2 separate regions of the Homo sapiens genome follow, and region 1 is linked to region 2. The links are contacts of gene promoters, found by promoter capture Hi-C in blood cells and fetal thymus (Javierre and others, 2016). All regions are on one chromosome and are shown on one strand. The core of a region is centred on a gene start or on the middle of the fragment in contact, and the rest is flanking DNA. Distances in the headings are between cores, read along the strand shown.

Evidence for each region. The method cuts DNA at HindIII sites, captures the fragments that hold promoters and counts their contacts. A CHiCAGO score of 5 or more calls a contact.
Region 1: a fragment that was not itself captured here is called in contact with the fragment with the promoter of VCP in region 2 in 1 of 17 cell types (neutrophils); the score reaches 5.4 in neutrophils.

Annotation. Positions count from the first base shown.
Region 1 is chr9:35,712,247-35,719,902 of GRCh38, forward strand. It overlaps TLN1 (talin 1), which reads right to left. Exons shown (of 57, transcript NM_006289.4): 14 at 7,494-7,607; 15 at 7,273-7,381; 16 at 6,828-7,036; 17 at 6,566-6,664; 18 at 5,373-5,540; 19 at 4,900-5,194; 20 at 4,144-4,310; 21 at 2,813-2,941; 22 at 2,514-2,630; 23 at 2,328-2,441; 24 at 1,993-2,127; 25 at 1,707-1,835; 26 at 950-1,052; 27 at 589-797. Among named protein-coding and RNA genes, the nearest start is that of MIR6852, 5.3 kb to the left of the region's middle. RefSeq lists an enhancer at 2,461-3,365. The HindIII fragment of the contact is 7,135 bases long and covers 2,275-7,656 here.
Region 2 is chr9:35,066,387-35,074,185 of GRCh38, forward strand. It overlaps VCP (valosin containing protein), which reads right to left and starts at 6,239. Exons shown (of 17, transcript NM_007126.5): 1 at 5,951-6,239; 2 at 1,865-1,976; 3 at 1,505-1,677; 4 at 289-431. The coding sequence starts at 5,967. It overlaps FANCG (FA complementation group G), which reads right to left. Exons shown (of 14, transcript NM_004629.2): 14 at 7,453-7,799. The coding sequence ends at 7,722. RefSeq lists a silencer at 5,317-5,946 and enhancers at 6,347-6,396, 6,597-6,736, 6,757-6,806. The HindIII fragment of the contact is 17,727 bases long and covers 1-7,799 here.

The sequences.
Region 1 (7,656 bases), core at 4,592-7,091, 650 kb after region 2:
TGTAGGTGAACAGGCTGAGGTTAGGGTTTCAAGTGACAGTAATTAAACTTCCCCAAACTTGGTGTTTAGCTCAGCCCATGACTGAATCCAACTGAGACACTTCTACAAGACCAAGAGGGCCGGGCACAGTGGCTCACGCCTGTAATCCCAGCACTATGGGAGGCCGAGGGGGGCAGATCACGAGGTCAAGAGATCGAGACCATCCTGGCCAACATGGTGAAGCCCTGTCTCTACTAAAACAAAATTCAAAAATTAGCTGGGTGTGGTGGCGCATGCCTGTAGTCCCAGCTACTAGGGAGTCTGAGGCAGGAGAATCACTTGAACCCAGGAGGCGGAGACTGCACTGAGCCGAAATTGCGCCATTGCACTCCAGCCTGGGCAGTAAGAGCAAAACTCTGTCTCAAAAAAAAAAAAAAAAAAAAGACTAAGAGAACATAAGGGTGGAATCCACAGAGGGGCTGTCAAGAGCAGACCCAAGAAGACATCACTCTGTGAGTGTGGACGAGGCTCAGAAGCTTTGGCCTCAATCAGGGTGGGCCTTATGAAGGAACCTGGGGGAGAGGGAGTGGCCCTTTCCCAGTATCTGACCTGGGCAAGCCGCTGCTGGCTCTCAGGGTCCCCTGGATGGCCAGCTGCCTTTTTCGCCTCCTCAATGAGGCTGCTGGCCTTGTCCAGCACATCACTGGCCGTATCAAGTACAATGGCCTGCACTGCAGGATCTGACGTCAGTGCAGCGACTCCCCTAGCGGCCTGGGCCAGTGACCGCAGCCCACCTGCCACATCCCGAGCTGCAATACCTTGGGAGATGAGGAGAAAGAGGGAAGGGAAGGTGCTTTCATTGCCAGGCCCTGATTCCAGTGGTTTCGTCTGTCAGTCCCATCCCTCATCCAGCTCCCATTTTCCTACCTCCCTCACAATATGCCCCATGCCTGGCTCTCTGCCCACATACCTGCATAATTCTCATTGCCCTGGGCAACCTCTCCCAGTAGCTGGGCGATGGCTGAGCTCACGGCTTTGGTGCTGTTGCCCAGGTCCTGGGTACACTTCTCCATCTAAGGATGAAGGGGGAAGAATTGGGCTTGAGAAAGGAGAAGGTGAGGAGAAGGAACCTGAGAAGGTACTTGGGGACAGGTGGCAATTTAAATAAATGTTTTGGGCTGGGTGCGATGGCTCCCACCTATAATCCTAGCACGTTGGGAGGCTGAGGCAGGTGGATCACCTGAGGTCAGGAGTTCAAGACCAGCCTGGGCAACATGGCGAAACCCCATCTCTACTAAAAATACAAAAATTAGCCAGGCGTGGTGGTGCATGCCTGTAATCCCAGCTACTCAGGAGGCTGAGGCAGGAGAATGGCTTGAACCCAGGAGGCAGAGGTTGCAGTGAGCTGAGATTGCACAACTGCACTACAGTTTAGGTGACAGAGCGAGACTCCATCAAGAAAGAAAAAGAAATAAAAGAACGGAAAAGAAAAGAAAAGAGAAAAGAAAAGAAAGAGGAGAGGAAAGGAAGAAAAGAAAGGAAGGAAGAAAGAAGGAAGGAGAGAGAAAGAGAAAGAAAAAAGGAAGGAAGAAGAAAGAAAAGAAAAATAAAAGAGAGAAAGAGAAAAAAGAAAAAGGAAGGAAGGAAAGGTTTTGAGCAGCTCTGGGGCACGGAGGTGAAGGAAGACTTTAGGATTTGAGTAAGAATGAGGTCTTAAACATACTTACTGTCTCCCCAGGTAAGGGTTTAAGCTTGCCATCTCGAGCTGCTGCCTTCACTTCCTGTAGATCTTTCTCTAGATTCTGTACCACACTCAGTGCAGAATCCATCTCCAAAGGTCCACATGCTTCCTGAGCCTATGATAAGAAAGGGGTTTTGGGTGTAGAAGGTCCTGCTGTGTCTCACCAATGCCTCTGATTACACAATTATCTGCGTATTGGGTTATTCTGCACAGATTTCCTCTCATCACAGGACTCCAGCCTCATCTTCCAAAGCCAGAACCAGCTTCCATACCTTCTGGGCAGCCGTCCGGAGTTCAGCCAGCGCGGTGCCCAGGTTCTTGGCACACTGACTCAGCTGCATGGCTGAAGCCTGGTCCTGAATCGTTGGCACTGAGGCCTTTGCAGCTGCCACCATCTTCCCACCTGGCTGTTGGGGAATAGGCAGGTGGATGAAGTGTGCCATCCTCCCTCTGGGCTTGGGTACAAGGACTGATGATGGTCAGGATGTAGGGAACACTGGGGCTTGGTATTGGGAAAGAGGCTCTTGGCAGAGATTCAAACTGTGGGAGATGGAAGCTTAGAAAGGTGGGAAGGTCAGGTCAGAGAAGTGCAGAGGGGGTGCCTTGCCTGCAGGAAGCTCTGGCTGGCAGCAATGAGGGCAAGCTGAGCGCTGGGGCTGTCAGGCTGGGCTTGGCTTCCTCGGACGCCCTGCACCAGCAGTGGAATCTGCTCTGCCACTGCCTGTAGGTGAAAATGTCATAAGAGACCCACAAGTCTCCCTCTTCCACTCCCACATCCTTCCTAGAGTCTTACCTTGCAGCTCTGCACCAGCAGGGGCTGGGGGCCGGCAGAGGCCTTGGGGGTAGAGGCTGCGTGCTGAGCTGCAGCGATGGTCTGTGTGGCTGAGGCTGCAGCCTGCTTGGCTGCATGCTGTGAAGACAAGAGTAGTCAGACCAAGCCCATGGATTCCCATGCCCAGCCCAGTCCCTGGCCTACCTTGCCCAGGTTATGCCTCAAGGACGTATTAACTTACTCTCCGCACCTCCCTTTCAGTTCATTCCTCCCACAGCACCCACACTCTCTCTTGCTCCTGGTGAAACTCCCAGCCTCACCTCCAGGCGCTGCACCAGCTTTTTCTTGATGGCATTCTGCGCAGCTGCATTGGTGGCCATGCGCAGCCCCTCAGCTGCCTCCCGCAGCCGCTGCTGCTGCTCCTCACTGTCAGGGTGGGCAGCTGCTCCCTGAGGGAGAGGTGGAAAGACAGTCATCACCCAGCTCTCCTGTGGATCCTAAAGAAGCTCCTCTCTCACTCCTCTAGACTCAGTTTAAAATTCATGTATTTTCCTGAAGTCATCTCTAACTAGCCCCACCAAAAGGCAATCACCTTTGAGAGGAGCTGACTCATGAAGGTCAATGGGAAACCTCAGGGGGCTAGGATTCCCACTGGATGCTGAAATCCTTTCTTAAGGTGGAATTGTTTTGTCTTCCCCTCCTTGGGGAATACCACACGAGTGAGGTGAGTAGGGCTTCCTGGACAAAGGAGGACTCAGTTTAGAGCAGGCATCTCAGGAATACCAAAGCAGGGGACCTGCTTACTCCTGCCAACTGAAAAGCCCCAGAGTCCAGGGGGCCTAGGAATCATCTGGGCTTCTTTCTGATGGTTCTCTGCATGCTGGTGTCTCAGTGTCCTGCTGGCAGCAGAGGCCCCAGAGACTGAATGCCTATGTGTATTCACAGGGGAGACCAGGAAGGAAAGGAATCCCAGGCAGGGTAGCAGCAAAGAAGGTAAAAATAGGCCTTGGACTTAAGACCTTGGACTTAAAGAAAAAGGATCTGGTTGCCTACTACAGAGGAATGGGAGAGATTTATTAAAGGACACAAAATTATAGCTAGATAGGAGTAAGTTCTAGCGTTCTACACCACTGTAGGATGACTAAAGTTAAGACTATTATATAGTTCCAAATAGCTAGGGGGAGGATACTGAATGTTCCCAACACAAAGAAATGATAAATATTTGGATAAATGATGGATATGTTAATTACTCTGATCTGATTACTATACATGTATTGAAATGTCACTATGTACCTCATGAATATGTAAAATTATGTCAATTAAAAAATAATTTTAGGCCAGGTGTGGTGGCTCATGCCTGCAATCCTAACACTTCGGGAGGCCAAGGTGGGAGGATCACTTGAGTCCAAGAGTTTGAGACCAGCCTGGGCAACACAGTGAGACCACATCTTTAAAAAAAAAAAAAAAAAAAAAGCCTGGGTCATGGCTCACCCACAGCCTTGGGGCTCATTCATTTCCTGAGTGCTCCTATATTTGTCCTCTTGTGTTTTCTGCTTTTCCTGGGTCTCCCTCATCAGATGAGGGTGACCATCTGGACTGCTCTACTTCCCTCTAGGGTCCAGTCTGGGAGTGTGCACAGAAGGCTTTGTACCTTGGCAGCCTCTACCATCTTGGCTGTGGCATCAGCTAGGATCTTGGCAGCACTTAAGAGCTTGCGGGAGTTCTCCAGATCACTTTCCCCCTCAGCATCAGCCTTGATGGCATTGACCAGGTCAGATGTGGCTTGGGCCAGGATGCGGGCCTGTCGCACCATCTCCCCTGAGAGCATAGGGCACAGTCAGGCGAGGAAGCCAGAGACACTGAGGTGTCAGGGGTGGGGACAAAGGTGGGGAAAAGTGGTGTAGACAAGGTAGATGGGGGCTTTAGGGACAGAAAAAGAGACTGGCAAAAGCTCTTGCATCATTTCTTTGGGGCTATTTTTTTTCTGGGTTTAGGATCTTGGAGAAAAAGATTCTCCAGTGGGTTCTTACGGGAGAAGGACAGTCTCCAATGGGTATTTTCAGCCAGTAGCCTTGAGAAGATGAGACACTCTCTGAAAACTTTTGGGGTCAGGGGTATAGTAGGGAAGGCTATACCACTTTCATGTCACTTTCTATATATTTTTGTGCGTACTTTGGTATATTCTTTAAATGCTCCAGGGAAGGTAGAGGACTTAATATTCCTTTTACAGAAGGGGAAGCAGAGGGTTCAGAGAGCTTTAATGATGAGCCTATGGTTGTGTGGCTGGCAAGCCCACACTGTGCTGAGTTCCTTGGGGTGAAGTGGTTAGGTCCGCAAGGGGATGATGTCCAGTGGGCTTAGGGAACCCTGGTAGGGTTTTTTGTTTTCCTGGGGGTGCGTGTCTTACCAGCATCACCCATGGAGCTAAAGATGTTCTCAGTGACGGTTAGGATGGTGTCAGTAGCCTGGTCATAACGGCCAGCAGGCCCAGCCCCTGTGGCATGGGCTTTCACATGCTGCAGCAGCTCATTTAGGGCCTGGGTGACAGCTGTGGCTGCTGCTCCTACCCCTCGCAACAGTTGCCCATCCTCTGTAGCTGCCTGGGAGGCAGACACACAGCCCTCCACGGCTTTGGCTACCAGTCGTCCAGCCTCCACCAGTTGCTCTTGGCAGACAGGTGAGCTGATTGTAGGTGCCACCACCTGTAGGTAAAGTGAATGTCAGAGACGTAGGCAAGGGAAAGGAGGTAGAGTATGCTGCTCATAGCAGTAACTGGGATGGGTGAGGAGGCCTCCAGAGCCAAAGAAATAAAATGAAAGGCTCACGTGTGTGTGGTAGTATTACCCCTCAGCACGGACTAGAGCAACCTTTGGGGCTCACCTTAGTACAGGCCACTAGTTGGGAAGTGGATAGGGCACACTGTGTTGCTGCAGCAATAACTTGGGTCTGAAGTCCCGAGTCCTCTGTCCGCTGGGCCACACTCTTGGCCTTGAGGACCAGGGCAGCTGCAGCACTTGCCACAGCTTTGGCGAGCTGCATTAGCGCATCCTGTGAGAAAACAGCAGTTAGCATGACCTGAGATTGGGCTTGGGATTCACAGACACTTCTCAGAGGCGTAAGCTGCTTCATTATTCCCACTGATCCAATCAAAGGAGAGTGTACGCAGAAGCAACCAGAACCTACCCCGAGCTACTGCCCTGAGCACCCAGCAGGACAGAACCCCCACCGAGGAACAAACCCACACCAAGAGAAAATACAGCCTACACCAAATGGAGACACACATGAGGCGGATACACTCGATGATGACGGGGAGACAATGTGGTGGCGCTGTTACAATGGGGTGGGGAGAGGAGGTAGGAGGTATCTCCTGGGATCCCTCCACCCCCAGCTTCTTTACTCCACTTCTTGATCTTGGATTGGAAGTGGTCATCCTGGAGTCTTGGGAGCAAGTCCCTGTACTACCCTACCTGATCCCATTTCCCAAAGCCTGGCTTCGCCAGGCCTCCTCATCTCCCACCAAGTTCTGGTCCCCCAGGAGGCTGAGGAAGAAGTACAGAAACGAGTGTATGCGGCTCAGAGAGGACAAAGCTGGGAAGGCCCAGGCCAGAGGCTGTTACCGTAGGGGAATCGGGGGGAGATCGAACCCCAGCCCCTCTGGATGCACATATCTGCATGGGAAATCCAGGGTGAAAAGTCAGCTGAGGAAATTGGCATGGAGCGGGAAGGGGGAGAGCTAGAGGAACACTATTCTCAGGGTGGCATGGTCTATAGCATTGTGGGGGGTCCTCAAATTGGGGCAAGGGCTATGTACGGGGAAGAGAGAGAAAAGATGACAAGGGGCTAAAGAATAAATGAGGGCCAAGAGTAAACTAGCAGGTTAAGTTTGGATTCAGGGGTTCTGAATTCTAACCCCTAAAAGAGAGATCAGAAGTTACTAGTATCATCCCCTGGAAATAGAGGTTCAGATTGGTTTTTAGGGGTCAATTCACAGAAGCCAGGACTAGGAACTGGATTCACGAGCAGAAGTTACTTCCTAGATTCTGGGGTTCTGGGGGGTTGGGTAAGTCACCAACCTGGAAGTGGGGGTCAGTATCACTTTCCCCAATTTGTTGCAACAGCTCCCCACTGGCCTGGCCCACGTTCCCAGCTGCTTGCAGCAGGTTCTGACGGGGCTGTGGAGAGTGAACACCAGTCAGAAGCTGCCCAATCCCTGCCCACATGCCTGTGCATATCACAGGCCCACGGGACCCAGGCTTCCATCCTGTGGCTTGGACTGCCCCTTCTCCTTGGGCTTGAACCCTGTCTCCACCCTAACCCAAACCTGTGGCCCCTGACCTCAGCACTGGCTGGTTGGGCACTGCGCAGCAGTTCTGACACTGCTCCCGCAAGGCCCTTTGCTGCCTGCAACAGGGGCCGACCACTGCCGCCTTCGTCCTCCAGCAAGGCAGCCAGCAGCTTCACCCCACGGGACATCTCCGTCAGGTTGGAGGAGATTGTGGTGACTGCACAGCCCACTGCGGTATAGTCTGTCTCAGCAGGGTCCCCTAAGGGGAAAAGGAGAAAGAGGAACATGAGAGACAGGGCAGGCCAGACGAAGGGCTGGGGAGGGAGCAAAGTCACACCCAGTTAGTCACACACATGTCCACAGAAAGACGCACACACACAGTCCCTTCCACAGTGAGTCAAGGCACAGTCACACATGAAGCCAGTCACATGCATGCCTGTGCACACTTGCACCCCCTCTCCCCATCACACACCCGGAAGCTAGCATCCGGCCTACCTGCTGTCAGGTTCACCACAGACGCAGTACCAGCTGTGATGGCATCTACCTGAGAGTGGATCTCATGCTTTGATTCATCCATCTTGTTTTTACGCCAGGCCTTAGAGGCCTGAAAGAGAGAGGAAAAGCCTTCAGGATCTGCCCTGGTTTGGTTCACCTCATCCCTATCCCTTGGAGTCTCAGCTTCAGTACCACCGGCCTCTCCTCCATCCCATACTTACAGCATCCTGGCCAAGAGGCGGCAGAGTGTCAAAGTCATCCAGGGTGGCCTGGGCAGCCTGCACGGCCTGCATGCTGGAGTTAATGGTTCCAGTGAGTGCCTGCTGGGCTGAAGTCTAAAGACAAGTGGGGAGAAACAGGGACTGGAATGGATGTTTGGAGAAA
Region 2 (7,799 bases), core at 4,989-7,488:
AGGTAGCTGGGATTACAGGTGCCCACGATGGGGTTTCGCCATGTTGGCCAGGCTGGTCTCAAACTCCTGGCCTCAAGTGATCCACCCGCCTCAGCCTCCCAAATTGCTGGGATTATAGGTGTGAGCCACGGTGCCCAGCTGACCCCATCTCTTAAAAAATGAATAAATAAATACAGGGGAAAAGCATAAAAGATTTAAAAAAAAAAAAAGAAAAAGAAAATGAGATAAAGATGTTCCAAGGTTTATTCCCTACAGTCAATAATCCTTAAGCTCAGAATTAGCTCTCACCTTTCCGGATGGGTCGATACGCTTCCAGGAAGTACGGCTTAAGGTATACCTCGAAGAGATTACCAGTAATGCCTTCCACTGTGTCATCAATGGGCAGCACATGGATACGTTTGCCGTACTTCACATCAGGGCATGGCTGGATGCTGAGGATGACAAGCAGACTCCATATTACCAACCACACTTCGGGCCCAAGCACTGGGTGTCCAAAAGGGCCTGGCACAGATAGCTGATAGTAAGTGAAAAAGAAAAGGCAGGATGGCTTTAGGCGAAGAGAGGAAGGAGAACAGGGTGGAAGTGAGGGCGAAGGAACAGCCCCACTCACTCCTAATCAGTGAGCCAAAATCAAGAGCCACACATTTAGAAACCCCACAAAGACATGCAGGGTCTTCAGGGAGATATCCAAGGATGATCCCCTTCTAGCTAATACTGGTGACCCAATATTACAAGGGAAGGTCTTAAGCTAACAATTGTCAGGGTCAGTGAAACAGAAGTGAAAAAAACAAAATTATCTCAGCCAGGTGGTCAGAACACCTTGAGGAAGTGACTAAGCACTCCCAAGAAGAAAGCTACATGAAACTTAGACTCCATTCAAAAGAATCAAAAGCCTGAGATGATCCTGGCCAGGTGATGGTTGGTTGGGTAGGAGTGGCTAGAGATGACTCCAAGATGGGGTAACCTCTTGCCTAAAATTATGCAAGAACAAGCAAAATCACTCACATTGAGAGCTATCCCAGGTCTGGCTCCAACTATTCCTCTCTCCCGGGTTAACTTAGGGGCTTAAAAGACCTGCTAGCAGCTCACCTTCCATGCCCATACCCCCACCTCATTCCAACCCCAACACAAGCCATCAATTAGACATACTAGTGAGAGTAGTGAGGAGATTATTTGGCATATACATACACACCCTCGAGTGGTATCCTAAGCCAGGATATAAGTATGATAAATTACACCTCTAGTAGGAAAAAATAAAGCCATCAAGAAAGTTACAGGAACGCCAATTTGTCTCAAGGGACCTGCAGAAATGGATTTTGAAGTCCCAGGGAGGCAGAACCAAAACCTAAAGACAACCCTGAAGCATAAGTCTTCCCATGACCAGGAGGCTTCCTGCATCGACAGGTGCCAAGAACTTGGTCCTGCCTGTAATACATGGGTCCTGCCTGTAATGCAGGCTATCTCTGGCCTCCCATCCCTGTGAAGCCAAAAACCCCACACACACCTGATGACATCCCCTAGGCGTACACGAAGGTTATTCCGAACAACTCTATTCATCCGAATCTTCTCATCAGAACAAGTATCATCAGAAAGGACGATGCAAACAGCTTCTCGTCTCTTCTTTCCTTTCAGCAACACTGTGTCACCTCGGAACAACTGCAATTCATCCATCTTGGGCTGAGGAAAGAAAGTTAAGGCCTTTGGGTCATTGGGCTGACGGGGAGTAAGCAGCAGCCCTGGAGATTGGGATTCCCAGTAAACCCCACTCTATCTGCAGTCACTGCAAGAAAAATGAGAAAAGAAACCTGGGAAAATCCCTCAAGTAAGTGCAGTAAGGAAAGACTAGTCTGTGGCCACAGCTTACCTGGGACAAGGACACCACACTGTTGTCCTCATTGATGGCTTCATCAACAATTAACCGATTGGGACGGTTCTTCTGTTTGAGAATGGCTGTTGATAGGTCATCACCTTTTGAACTAGAAGGAGGAAATGGAGTCAGTAGATACTCCTGCCCCAAGCGCCTCGCCAGTCTCTAAAACTCATACTTAGGAAAGAAACAGTGAATAGATGAAGCTGTCCCTAGACCAGAAAGCTCAGATGAAGGAAAGGCAGCCAAGGTCACGAGGAGCAGTATCTACCATACATATTACAATACCCATTCCAGCAGCTCCTGGTATTTTGAGCGTCAGTGTCCCAGCTATAAGGCCCCAAGTGAGTGATCCTGCCCCAGGGTCAGAAAATAATGGCCTAAGAAGAAGACATAATAGAAATGGAGGCTGAATAGTTGTTAGAGAAATAAAAATAGTCTTAGACTTACAGAAGAGTGGTTAAGAGCAGGAACTCTATAGTCAGACCCATTGGGTCTGAATTCCAATTATGCCACTGCTTAATTGTGATCTTGGGCAAGTTACCTAACCTCTGAACTTTGATGTCCTCCTCTATAAAAGAAGGAATATAATACTTATCTCAGAGGCTTATTGTCTTAAGGGAGATAATGAATGTAAAATGCTTAACATAATACCTGGCACATGGTATTAATGGTCACCATGATTAACAGTATAGAGTAAAGCATAAGCTAACTTTCCAGGGAATTAAGTAAGCCAGACAACCTCCCTTGAGGCTCAGGGAGGCCTTAAGTTCTACCAAGCAAGCCTGGGGACAACGAAGCAGAATCATTGGTGCTACCCTCCTTATAGGCTAAACCTACTGATGCCAGGGCATTCCATAGTACCAAAGGAATGCCAAGCATAAAGACCATCATATTTGGAAAAAACACTAACAGACATCAAACCGCCAGAAAGAGGCTCAAGGTCAAAAGGAACTTCACAGTAATATCTGCAAAAGTACACAATTCCATAAAGTTGGCTCAAAAAATCAAAACCAAGAAATGCTGAGACATGGGGCAAATCCAAATCCCTCTCACCCAAATCAAAGTCGACTGGGTCTACACTCAGTGTTATTTCCTAGAAGCTAGGATCATTCACCAGACAGTGACACCAACTTATTACCTAGCCCGTTTCCAGCTGTCACTTACTAGACTCAGCAAGCTCCCTCTCCCTTTTTTTTTTTTTTTTTTTTTTTTTGAGATGGAGTTTCGCTTTTGTTGTCCAGGCTGGAATGCAATGCTGCGATCTCAGCTAACTGCAACCTCCACCTCCCGGGTTCAAGTGATTCTCCTGCCTCAGCCTCCCGAGTAGCTGGGATTACAGGCATGCGCCACCACACCTGGCTAATTTTGCATTTTTACTAGAGATGGGGTTTCACCATGGTGGTCAGGCTGGTCTCGAACTCCTGACCTCAGGTGATCTGCCCACCTCGGCCTCCCAAAGTACTGGGATTACAGGCGTGAGCCACAGCACCCAGCGCTCTCTCTTTTTTAAGAGCGGCCTCGTGTTAGTAAGGCTCAGGAAAACATAAGCATTAACCAAAGTAGGAAGGCCAGACAATGAAGGAAGCAAAGAAAATAAATTTTTAAAACGAATTTCTTCATTCAACAAATTCATGAGTCTCTATTATGTACCAGGCATTGTTCTAAGGGCTGGGGATACTGAAGTCAACAAAACAAGACAAAATAGTATTCCCATTGGAAATATCCTCACAATTTGCAAGAGACAAAGAAAAATGCTGTGCTCAGCTAGGAAGCCATGGGGTTCTTACATCTTTGGGTCCTGATACACCCAAGAGAAAAACAAACCCCATTCATCTAACAAAATGGTAGGCCTTCTGCTAACCCTCACACATAGGCTGCATTTTTAACCACTGCCTCTAAACTAGTTTCTAACGACAGTTTCCTCTGCTCAAATTTGCTTCCCCCATTCCAAAAGTCTGCCACTCCAGGCACAATGCTGCTGAGTAGGCAGACTCTTCCAATGCTTATCAACACACTAGAGGCCAAGCATGCTCAATGTGACAGTTGAGAGCAATGTAAACCCACGAGCTCTCCCACTCCTGTCCCATCAAAATACTCTTCCAGGGACTGCCCATCTTCTTGCTTGACTTATAGAACTGGGACTGGAGAAAAATAAAACGCCAGATGCCTCTAGTCACCATAGTTTTTTATTTTTTGAAACGGAGTCTCCCTCTGTTGCCCAGGCTGGAGTGCAGTGGCGCGATCTCCCTCACTGCAATCTCTGCCTCCCTGGGTTCAAGTGATTCTCCTGTCTCAGCCTCCAGAGTGGCTGGGACTACAGGTGTGCACCATCACCATGCCTGGCTACTTTTTGCATTTTAATAGAGATGGGGTTTCTCCATGTTGCCCGGGCTGGTCTCAAACTCCTGACCTCAAGTGATCTGCCTGCCTCGGCCTCCCAAAATGCTGGGATTACAGGCCTGAGCCACTGTGCCCGGTCAATAGTTTGTATTTTAATCTCAAAGCTGTATCCTAGGAAAACCTCCATTCTGCCTACCATCCCGGACTCTGGCTCTGGAGATGAGTGGTATGCCCTTTTCTTAAGGTAAAGCCTCTAATTCCCCATCTACCTACTGAGATCAGATGTGGTAATCTCTAAAAGACTGAATTTGGCCTGACCATGGGCCAACAGCAGTTCTGGACACTCTTTGGGGCAATCCTCCATTGTCTTCTGTATAAGTCAATCCCTTTCCAGAACTGCACAGGGGACTCCACGGGACTTGGAAGGGTTTCAGCTAAGAGTCATCAAGGTGACCAAGAGGTTAGAAACAGCTGATGATGCCAGGTTCCAAGAATTTTAGATTTTTACTTTTGAAAATAAGAGGCTGACTGCATATAAACCAAAAGAATACTTTCAGAATAAGTGACTCTTTTAAATAAGCAACTGAGTAATACTTTATCCGAATTCAGAAACTTGAGAAAAAGGAACACACCTCAAAAAACTAATCTCTTCAAGGAAGGAAGGTAATTTGCATAGAGTTTCCTTGGGCTGGCTGTGTTTTTTTTTTTTTTTTTTTTTTTTTTTTTGCCTCTAAAAGCTCTCTATTCTAAATTGAATGGGCTGAGGTAGCCAAGTTTTATCTAACGCTTTCCTAAGGATGGAGGTGGGGTCAGAAAGCCCCAGAGCCCGGGTAATTTCTCAATATAGCTGGTTGGGGAAAGGAGTGCGCGCACGTTTGTGTTTTTGAAGAGTTAGTGCAACTCTAAACTGCACACCACGAAACCTGGAAATCTGGAAAGGCGCACAAAACACGAACTGAGATTCCAACTTTAGCAAGAACCTAAAATGTTAAAGAAAAATTCCTTTCTCCCCACCCACGAGTCATAACATTAAGGAAAACTGGCTCAAACTTTCTAGTATGAACAACAGGCCTAAAGTAAGAAGACCAGAAGCGAAAGGTAGGGCTCGCCCTCTCCCTAACAGTCCTTCACGACTCAGGTCACACACAGAGGATGCCCACCTCCGGCCCCGCCGACCCGGCTCCAAAAAGGCGGCTGTGAGCTTCCCTGAGCTCGGCGGGCCTTCCCCGACCCCGGGCTCCGCCTCGGTGGCAGAGCTCCTGAGGCCTTCACATGGCGCAAAGTCCACGCCCACCGGGCCCGGCTGGGGCCTCGGGCTCGCGGGGCCTGCTCTCTCCGGGGACCAAAGGCTTTCGGCGGGTGGTAGGCCGGACGGCAGACTGGCGCCCCAAAGCCCCGGGGCGCCGCGCCGGCGGAGTGGGCCGGAAGACCTGGCCAGGCCCAGACGTCCGTTCTAAGGGAGCCAATCGGGCGGGCCGGGGCCTGCATGACACAGCACGATCCGGCCCAGGCTCCGACCCGGACCCAACGCAAGCCCCGCCTAGGGGGCGCGCGGGTGCGCAGCTGGCCCCAGCCGGGCCTGCCGGGTCCACGGCCCCTCACTCGCCCCCTAGCTTCCCTTCCCTCTTTCCTGGTCTCCACCTCTCTGACGCGCCCACGGCCAGGCCCCGCCGGGCCTACCCTGCGCGGCTGGTCCCGGTGCGCGCCGCCGCAGCAAGCGAACGGCGCGCGCACACTCACTCGGCTCCAGAAGCCATGGCGCGCGCCTCTCCCGGCCGGCGGCTGTGGCGGCCCGCGGGTAACGGCTACGAGCGGTGGCAAGCGACCGACTGGGCCGGGGCTCGGCTCTTCCAGGCGGTGGGCGAGCAGCGGCGACAAACCCGCAAGCGGCTTCCCTCTCGCTTCCTCCCACCGGCAGCGAGGCGTCGGGCGAACAACGCTGGCTCCTGATCCGCGAGGTGGCAGTGGCAGTGGCAGCGGCAGCGGCAGCGACGACTCAAACGACGGTCGCAGACGCTTCGCTGAGACTGAGCCGAGAAGAGCCGAATCATCGGAAGGGAAGCTGCTCCCACCTCAGCCAATCAGCGCCTGCCCTGCGGACTCTCGCCCGCCTCTCCGCGCCTCTCCCCAGCAACCCGCAGATCACAGCCAATCAGGAAATTCGCTTGCGGCCTGGCTCCCGCCTCAGTGATGCGACACGCCTAGTAACGCCACGTCAATTGGCCGCAACGCTACGCTTCCTCGACGGATTGGAATTCTCAGCCAATCAACGAAAGGAATAGGGCGAGATCGATTAGTGAAAGGAGACCCTTTAATCCCTTAGAGGCGGACTCTCCCACTTGGCTCCAGTTCATTGGCTCCGGAGTTTATCCTCCTGGAAGAACGTGGCACAATAGACTGAACCCTTGTATTAGTCTAGTCCTATTGTGGTAACCCATACACCCATCTTCTCCCAAAACCTGGAGATCTTCTAAGACGCCATCACCACCCTGACACTTCTTGCTCCTTCTCAACGCTGCCTCCAACCACCCCTACTCTGAACTTTCTGACTAGCACCCCACTCCTACCCCATTGTCACTGCACCCTCTGGTAACCCCAATCCCACAGCCTTTGCAGTTTCTCAGCGCTTGTGCCTTTCTTCCTCCCGTCATTAATATTAATACCTTATAATAAGGCACTCAAATCCAGAGAAGTCAAAGGGCAACCACAGAACACACAGCCAATTCAGTAGAACCCAAATTAGCAAGAAAACTGCATATGCTGGGACTTGAAAATCCTTGGGCCCCAAATAACAGGGGTCCCTGTTAGTAGTCAACAGGCAGCTGTTGGTGATATGCTGACTCAATTCACCTTTCACCCTGTACCCACACAGACACATTTGACTAAGACGAGTCGAATTTCTAGAATTTGGAATTAGGAAGGGAGTGAAGAGTTACTCTGAGAGAAACCTGCCTGTCTCTAAGTAACAGGTACCTGCCCTTGTCCTGAGAGGCCTATCTAGACCACCCTTCAGACCCAACTCCACTCATTGTCACTGTCCTGGGCTTTGGGGCTCTGCATTCAGGCAATGTGAAGGACTAAAGCCACTGCCTCCAAAGTGAGGATTCCTGTAGCCCTTTCCTCATACCCAGACTTCAAGTTCATAAGGTAGACGATGTCAGGAAAGGGCATCATAGACAACTAGCACTCAACTAGACGGTCACAAGCCTTCCCACGCAAGTATATGTAGTAGGCAGACGAGATAAATATGAAATTTTACTCGACAACAGAAAAGGAGAAACAGGAAAAAAGGTGCCTCGAGCAAAGTCAATGACTTGGTGGTGGCAGAGATTGTTTCCTCCAAAACGAGAATGGTAGTAACTAGGGCAAATTTCACAGGCCTACCACCAATCTCACCAGTCCAGGAATTATATAGGAATGGTCACATTCCTAATGATGGTGAAGCAGAAAGCCCTCCCCACAGAGAGACAGCCCACTGGGGACCCAGCTCAAGCTCTTCAAAACGTGGCAGCTACAGGTCACAAGACTTTGGCAGAGATGTCCGAAATTCTTCAAGGAAGGCGTCACGATCAGAGGGACGGATCCAGCT